2 separate regions of the Homo sapiens genome follow, and region 2 is linked to region 1. Evidence: promoter capture Hi-C in human tissues and cell types (Jung and others, 2019). All regions are on one chromosome and are shown on one strand. The core of a region is centred on a gene start or on the middle of the fragment in contact, and the rest is flanking DNA. Distances in the headings are between cores, read along the strand shown.

The links. Contacts are between HindIII fragments. The study calls those that stand out against the background at their distance.
Region 2: a fragment that was not itself captured here is called in contact with the fragment with the promoter of KCNG1 in region 1 in 10 of the 25 tissues and cell types used here (H1 embryonic stem cells, IMR-90 fibroblasts, bladder and 7 more).

Annotation. Positions count from the first base shown.
Region 1 is chr20:51,021,221-51,025,033 of GRCh38, reverse strand. It overlaps KCNG1 (potassium voltage-gated channel modifier subfamily G member 1), which reads left to right and starts at 1,927. Exons shown (of 3, transcript NM_002237.4): 1 at 1,927-2,164. RefSeq lists a silencer at 1,829-1,998 and an enhancer at 3,723-3,813. The HindIII fragment of the contact is 10,697 bases long and covers 1-3,813 here.
Region 2 is chr20:51,063,453-51,067,265 of GRCh38, reverse strand. No RefSeq gene overlaps it. Among named protein-coding and RNA genes, the nearest start is that of KCNG1, 42 kb to the right of the region's middle. The HindIII fragment of the contact is 5,903 bases long and covers 1-3,813 here.

The DNA of each region.
Region 1 (3,813 bases), core at 678-3,177:
CAAAAGCCCACCCCACCCCACTCAGGCCCCTCCCCCACACTGCTGGTTGGTCTCTTTGATGTTTCTCAGACATGCCTCCTTCTCTCCTGCTTGAAGGCCAGTGCCTTTGATGTTCTGTCCACCTAGAAAGCTCTCTTCCCATCTTGCCAGATGGGCTCCTTCTGGCTCAGGGCTCCATGTAACCATCACCTCCACAGGAGCCCTCCCCCATTATTCTATCTAAAGTGGCCTCTCTGGCTTCATTCTGCAATCACGTATTTCAGCAGTTTCCCAATTCTGCCAAGCCCCCAGTAGAAGGTGAGCTCTTGGAAACAGGTCCTTAGGCAGATCCTTGTCTGTCCAGGCCTCCACCTCACCAGTAAGCCAGTGTTTTTATTCTTGTTGTTTTAGAGGCTGGATCTCGCTCAGTCACGCAGGCTGGATTGCAGTGGTGCCATCATAGTGCACTATAACCTGGAACTCCTATGCTCCACCCGGCTGGGACTGCCGCGCAGGCTAGTGTGCCCTGCGCTCATTTCTTAGGGTTAACCCTAACCCACTTAATGAGCACCCACGACTCCCCAACCCGAGCCCCACTCAAGCAGAAGGCCTCAGGCTGGTCGGCAGCAGGGTTTCTTCATGTCCTTTCTTGGTTCTCTGATGATAGGCAAAGGCAGTAGAGACAGAAAGGAAAAGAGGAACGGAGTGCAAGAGACAGAAAGGAGAAGAGGAACGGAGTGCAAGAGACAGAAAGGAGAAGAGGAACGGAGTGCAAGGCAAGCCACCCTAAGAGGCCAGCCCTGCCAGCAGCACAGATCCCTCCAAACCAATAGGTCCCTCCAACTCAGTAGATTCCTCCAACCCAATAGATCCCTCCAACCCAACCTCCAGCATCTGTGCAGCATCCTACCAACTCCGAGGCTAGGCGGCCACACTGGGAGCAAGACCCCAGGACCTGGTCCAAGTGCCCTGCACCGGCCAGGGGAGTGGACGACGAAGTGCGGCTCTGCTAGCCCGGGAGGGCTCTGGGGCCTCGGCCCCGCGGGACTGGAAGGGAAAACACCTGGCACGGTACGTACTGGCCCTAGGAATTTGGCACAGCAAGATGCTGGCAGTCCCTGGGTGGCGGTGGCAGGAAGGGCCCAAGGGCAACATTGGTCTAGGAGGTCGAGAAAAGGCGCGCGATATATGGCCCCCAGGATGTGGAAGCTTGCTTGGAGCGTTCGGCTCCAGGGCAGCAGCGCGTGGAGGGCCTCAAGGATGCAGTATTTGCCCGGGGTAGGGGGGCGAGGGACCCAGAGGCAGCAGTGCACTTGGACTTCCAGGACTTCCAGGGAAAGGCAGGAGACATGGCGCATGTGGTTCCCAGGATGTGTAAGCGCGTGGAGCGCGGCCCCGGGGCAGCGGAGAGTGGGGTTTTAATATCTAGCACATGTAGACCCTGGGGCGGTGCTGCTAGGGGCGCGGACCCGGGACCACCGGAGCACTTGCACCGCGGGGAAAGCTGACAGGGCGCGCGACCCTAGGAGGCTGCCGCGCCGCCTGGTGCGTGAAGCTCCAGGGCAGCGGAGCGCGGGGACCTTGAAGGCTGTCGCGTGCAGGCGAAGGGGCCGCAGGGTGGTCGCTCCTGGGAGAGCAGACGGGGAAGAAGGCAACGGGAGGGAGGGCGTAGCGCGAGCAGTCCCGGACGCGGGCTCAGGAACTGGCCGCGAGGAGCGCAATCCAGCAGGCGCGCCAGGGCCCCCGGATCCAAGGTGCGGGGTCCCGATTGGGCGCCTGGACGCCCCGTGACGGTGGCGCCGCTGCCACTGTCCCGAAGCGAGGCGAGGCCAGGCGCTGCGCTTTCGGCTGCCCGCCCCTTCTCCCCGCCCCGCGCTCAGTCCCCTCCCTCCGTCCCGCCTCCTGCCTCGCTCCCTCCCTCGGCGGCTGCTGCGCCGCGCTCCCGGCGCACTCGGAGCCCGGCGGGGACCGGGAGGCAGAGACGGGGCGGCCGTGGCTCCGAGGGCGGGAGCTGAGCCGGGCCCCGGGACCGAAGTTTGGCGGCGGCTCCGGGAGGCAGAGCGGGCTCCCCGGGCGACTTCCAGGCCCCTCTCGCGTCCTCGCCCCGGACCCGTGGGCAGCCGGGGGGAACGGAAGCCGCGGCCGGGCCAACTCCGAGGCGGGGACGCCGCGACGGGAACTTGAGGTGGGAACTTTGCGCGCTGCAGCCTCGCCGGGCGCCACCGAAGCGCGAACCGGACCCCGAGCCTGCAAACTCGGGCTCGGGGGCGGCTGCACGTGGCCGTGGCCCTGAACTCCCTGCGGGGGCCTCGAAACCCGCCTGCGGGGAGGCCAGGGCGACAGAGGACTCGGGAGTCACCGCTGGTGCGTGGCGGCGTGGAGCGCGCTTGTTACGGCCAAGGTGCGGGTCCGGCTTCGGTTCATCCCAAGGGGTCACCGGGATGCGAAGTCCGGGACGTTCGCCGCCGCGGTGACCCCGGCGGGGGCGCATCCCGGCTGTGGGCCGAGGTTTCTCCCCCGATCCTGGGAGGAAGGAGAGTTAGGGATTGGGGTGGGGGAGTGTGTGTCACTTGCTCATTCACTGTATCCTTAGGCACAGTATGGAGCCCCCCTTCACCCCCACCGTGGGCCTGATTGAGTCATTCATTATGAACACAGCAAGCGTTTATTGAGCGCCTACTGTGTGCTAGGCACTGGGGATACTGAGACAGTTCACTGGGCACCCCCAGGAACTGGTAGGAAGGTGGTGGTCTCAGCCTTAGGGTTTCCATGTGGGAGAGAGGCTCAGCCCGGAGGTATGGAAGGAAAAGGGTGAAGTTCATTCATTCATTCATAGATTGGACAAAGATTGGTTGAGCACCTATTGTAAGCAGCTCATCATACCAAGCGCTCAACAGTCATTCATCCAGTTCACAAACATTTATGGAGGCGCTATGCTGGGGAGAAGTGAAGAGGGATGGAATGGGGGCACCCTTCATGCAGCTTAGAGAGAAGTAAGGATTAAGACCCAGGCCCCCGCTTGGGAGGCCGCAGACTGCCGGGGTGGCCAACTGTAGCAGCCCATGTATATAGGCAGAAGTCTTGGTTCATCTAATGCATTCCTTCTCAAGGTGGGAGGTGTGGAAGCTGGAATTGGTTCTAGAATAGGAAGAAAAGATCTTTTCAAAGCTCCTTAGGGGCGGGTGATGGGGTAGGGTGGGGAGGAGTTGAGAAACACTGATCCGACATTACTGAGGAATGCAGGTTCCCACCAATGGGGTTTATGAGTTAGGTTGTCCATTCAGCAGGCATTTTCTTAAGCACTCGCTGTTATTAAGCACTTAAAGGGTGCCAGGCACCAAAGTTACCCAGGTAAATGACAGACACATAGAAGAGGGAGACAGACACAGACGCCCCCACCCCCTTTGCTGACTCCCTGAGATAAGTACAGGGGGAAGTAAGAGGAGGGAGCAGGAACTGGTCTGATTCATTGTGGGGTGGGGGAAGTTCCTGCCCTATGAATCTGAGCAGAGGTTTATTCATTAGTGTGTGTTTGATACCCCCATACCCATGATGGCAGAGTCCCTATGAAGAGCCTCACCGGCAGCACATCTCCAAGAAAAGTTTGGCACTGCTGATTGGGGCCTTGCGGTCGGCACTGTGGCTAGGGCATGCTGTCCTTCTTTGGGGGATTTTTCAGGCTCTGCCAGACCTGAGCTCTATTTGTGCCTCCCCCGGCTTTTGGAGCCCTGCAGAGTCGCCTGATAGGAGGGGAAGGAGGGAAGGTGTGTTTGAAAAACAGGCAAGCGCTGGCCCCTGGGGATCACCCTCCTCAGTCATTCTCGAAGCCAGCCC
Region 2 (3,813 bases), core at 455-2,954, 42 kb before region 1:
TTCACCACGTTACCCAGGCTGGTCTTGAACTCCTGGGCTGAAGCGATCTGCCCGCCTCAGCCTCCCAAAGTTCTCGGATTACAGGCGTGAGCCACCATACCCAGCCTCTCAGGTTCTGTTAAAAATGAACAGAAAATACAAAAAATACAAAAATTATCCAGGCGTGGTAGCACATGCCTGTACTCCCACCTACTCAGGAGGCTCAGGTGGGAGGATTGCTTGAGCTTGGGAGGCAGAGGTTGCAGTGAGCCAAGATCGGGCCACTGCACTTCAGCCTAGGTGTCAGAGAGAAACCCTGTCTCAAAAAAAGAAAAAAAGAAAAAACAGAACCTCAGAAACTTGCAGGACAATATTAACAGGACTAAGAAGATCATTCGGGTAGCAAAGGGTCAAAAAACCTGGAACCAGGAGAATGAAACTCATAGCAATGTGGGCAGAATGGCCAGGATGTTAGCCATGAATCTGTGGAAAGAAAAACCTCACATTCAAGAAATATTACGAAAAAGAAAACATCAGATCTTGGTAATTAGTTGACTATAGGCATGCAAAAGAAAGAAATCTCAAAACTGACTCCAGAGTTTCGAAACTACAAAACCATGAATTAAAATGACGGATTATGACTACATTAACAAAGTTAAGCAAACTCAGAAGACAAGTAGAAAACAGGAGAAAGTATTTGCAATTAATTTTCTAGCTAATAATATATTACACATAGATAAAGAGAGTGAGCGGGATGCATCTGTATCTATATGTATACTTACATATAGATACAGGCTAATCTCTCTACTTTATAAAAAACCCTCAAAAATAGAGGCGAGAGGCTGGGCGCAGTGGCTCACGTCTGTAATCCCAGCACTTTGGGAGGCCAAGGTGGGCAGATTGCCTGAGGTCAGGAGTTCGAGACCAGTCGAGCCAACATGGTGAAACCCTGTCTCTACTAAAAATACAAAAACAATTAGCTGGGCATGGTGGCATGCGCCTGTAATCCCAGCTACTTGGGAGGCTGAGGCAGGGGAATTGCTTGAACCAGGGAGGTGGAGGTTGCAGTGAGCCAAGATTGTGCCACTGCACTCCAGCCTGGACAGCAGAGTGAGACTCCATCTCCAAAAAAAAAAAAAAAAAATAGAGGGGGGAAAAGACCAAAAACATATTAGAAAAATTGATAAATGGTACTTAAACATAGGAAAGATGCTGAACATCATTCATAAGAAAAGAAATGAAAATTAAAACTACCTGGATATGAACTACTATTTGACCCAGGAATCCCATTACTGAGTATATACTCAAAGGAGTATAAATCATTCTACCATAAAGACACATGCACACGAATGTTCACTGCAGCACTATTCACAAAGCAAAGACGTGGAAGCAACCTAAATGCCCACCAATGACAGATTGAATAAAGAAAACGTGGTACATATACACCATGGAATACTATGCAGCCATAAAAAAGAACGAGATCATATCTTTTCCAGGAACATGAATGAAGCTGGAGGCCATTAGCTTTAGCAAACTAACACAAGAACAGAAAACCAATACCACTTGTTCTCACTTGTAAGTGGGAGCTGAATGGTAAGAACTTATGAACACAAAAAAAGAAAACAGCAGACACTGGGGTTTACTGGAGGGTGGAGGGTGGGAGGAGGGAGAGGATTAGAAAAAATAACTATTGGGTACTAGGCTTAGTACTGGGGTGATGAAATAATCTGTACAACAAACCCTCGTGATGTGACATGAGCTCACCTATGTAACAAACCTTTACATGTACCCCTGAACACAAATGTTTAAAAAAAAACTACCCTGATATATCATTTCTCCTTTATCATATTGGCAAATTCAAAAGCTTGCCACTGGCCAGGCACGGTGGCTCATGCCTATAATCCCAGCAATTTAGAAGCTGAAGCGGGCGGATCATTTGAGGTCAGGAGTTCAAGACCAGCCTGACCAACATGCTGAAACCCTTTCTTTACTAAAAATACAAAAAAATTAGCCGGGTGTGGTGGCACATGCCTGTAGTCCCAGCTACTTAGGAGGCTGAGGCAGGAGAATCATTTGATCCTGGGAGGCGGAGGTTGTAGTGAGCCGAGATCATGCCATTGCACACCAGCCTGAGGGACAGAGTGAGACTCCATGTCAAAAAAAAAAAAAAAAAAAAAAAAAAGAAGCTTACCACCCAACTCTGCTGACCAGGCAGTGGGGAAAAAGACTCTTCACACATTGTTGGTAGGAGTGCATAATGGGTTAATCCCTAAGGAGGGAAATTTGGCCAGATCTATCAAAATCACATACGTATTTACTCTTTGACCCACCAATCCAACTTTTAGCAGATTATCCTGCATATCAATTGCTAAACAATTATGAAAAAAGGATATACACAGATTATTCATTGCAGCAGCATTGATAATAACAAAAGACAGGAAGCAATCTAAATGTCCATCCGTGACAGACTGATTGAATGAAATATGGTACCTCCACACCAGAAACTAATGAAATTATTTGCTATAGTGTATGGATAAGAATAGGGTGAAAGGGAAAAAGATGGGAGGGAGACTTCTCCAAGCATATTTTTATGTAGTTTTGCTTTTGAACCATGTAAATTATATCAAAAGGGGTAGAAAGAAGCTATTCCTAGAATTGAATGCAAGCAGAAACAAATAATTCTAACAGTACAGCAAATATAAATAATGTACTCCACAGGGAAAATAATTGATTCAAGTAACTAAAGCTTACTTCTAGATCTTTGGGGTGGAGAACTAGGTGGAGGACACACCAAGATAATGGTAAGGAATGTGTGTGTGTGTGTATATGCATATAAAAAAACCTATATATATACCTTTATATATATACACACGTATAGTTGCTAAACTTGATTTAGTAGATTTATTGTTGATAGTGGTAACAGTACAGTAATTCTGGAAGTATCTTGTGTGTTGCATGATAGAACAAATGAGTCAATATACTAATTTTACTAAAACGAGGATTTCCACTGTGGGTGAATGAAGATATAAATATGGAATGGGGGAGATGGGCAAGAATTACCCAATCTGAAGAATGAAGGGGAAAAAAATGATTCTTAGAAAATGAACAGAAACTCTGGCTGGGCGCGGTGGCTCACGCCTGTAATCCCAGCACTTTGGGAGGCCGAGGCGGGTGGATCACAAGGTCAGGAGATCGAGACCATCCTGGCTAACACGGTGAAACCCCGTCTCTACTAAAAAATACAAAAAAAAATTAGCCGGGCATGGTGGCGGGCACCTGTAATCCCAGCTACTCAGGAGGCTGAGGCAAGAGAATGGCATGAACCCAGGAGGCGGAGCTTGCAGTGAGCCAAGATCGTGCCACTGCACTCCAGCCTGGGTGACAGAGCGAGATTCCGTCTCAAAAAAAAAAAAAAAGAAAAAAGAAAATGAACAGAAACTCAGTGTTACTCAGAAACAAATAGTGGTCTCACTATGAGGTCATAGTTTAAACAGACATATACCCTGGCTCTCCATCCAGAAGAACTAAAAGTAATGACACTCCAATGTCATGAAAGCTTACCCAGCACCCAGATCTGGGTTTCTAAATACTATGCACCCCTTAAAAGGAGACATAATTGATTCCATTTCTGGGCAACACCTTGTGCCAGAATGTAAGGAAGTGCCCCAAAACTGATGGAGGCATGTCACAAGGTCAAAGAAGCCAGCTCGAAGGGACTCCCACTGGCCAAATCTTGGGGAAGTGGGGAGAGTCCATAAGACCAGTGATACTAAAACTAAGAAATTTTAAAGTGAGGAGGAGGGATGGGGCAGCGTCAGGGGGGTAAATGAAGTG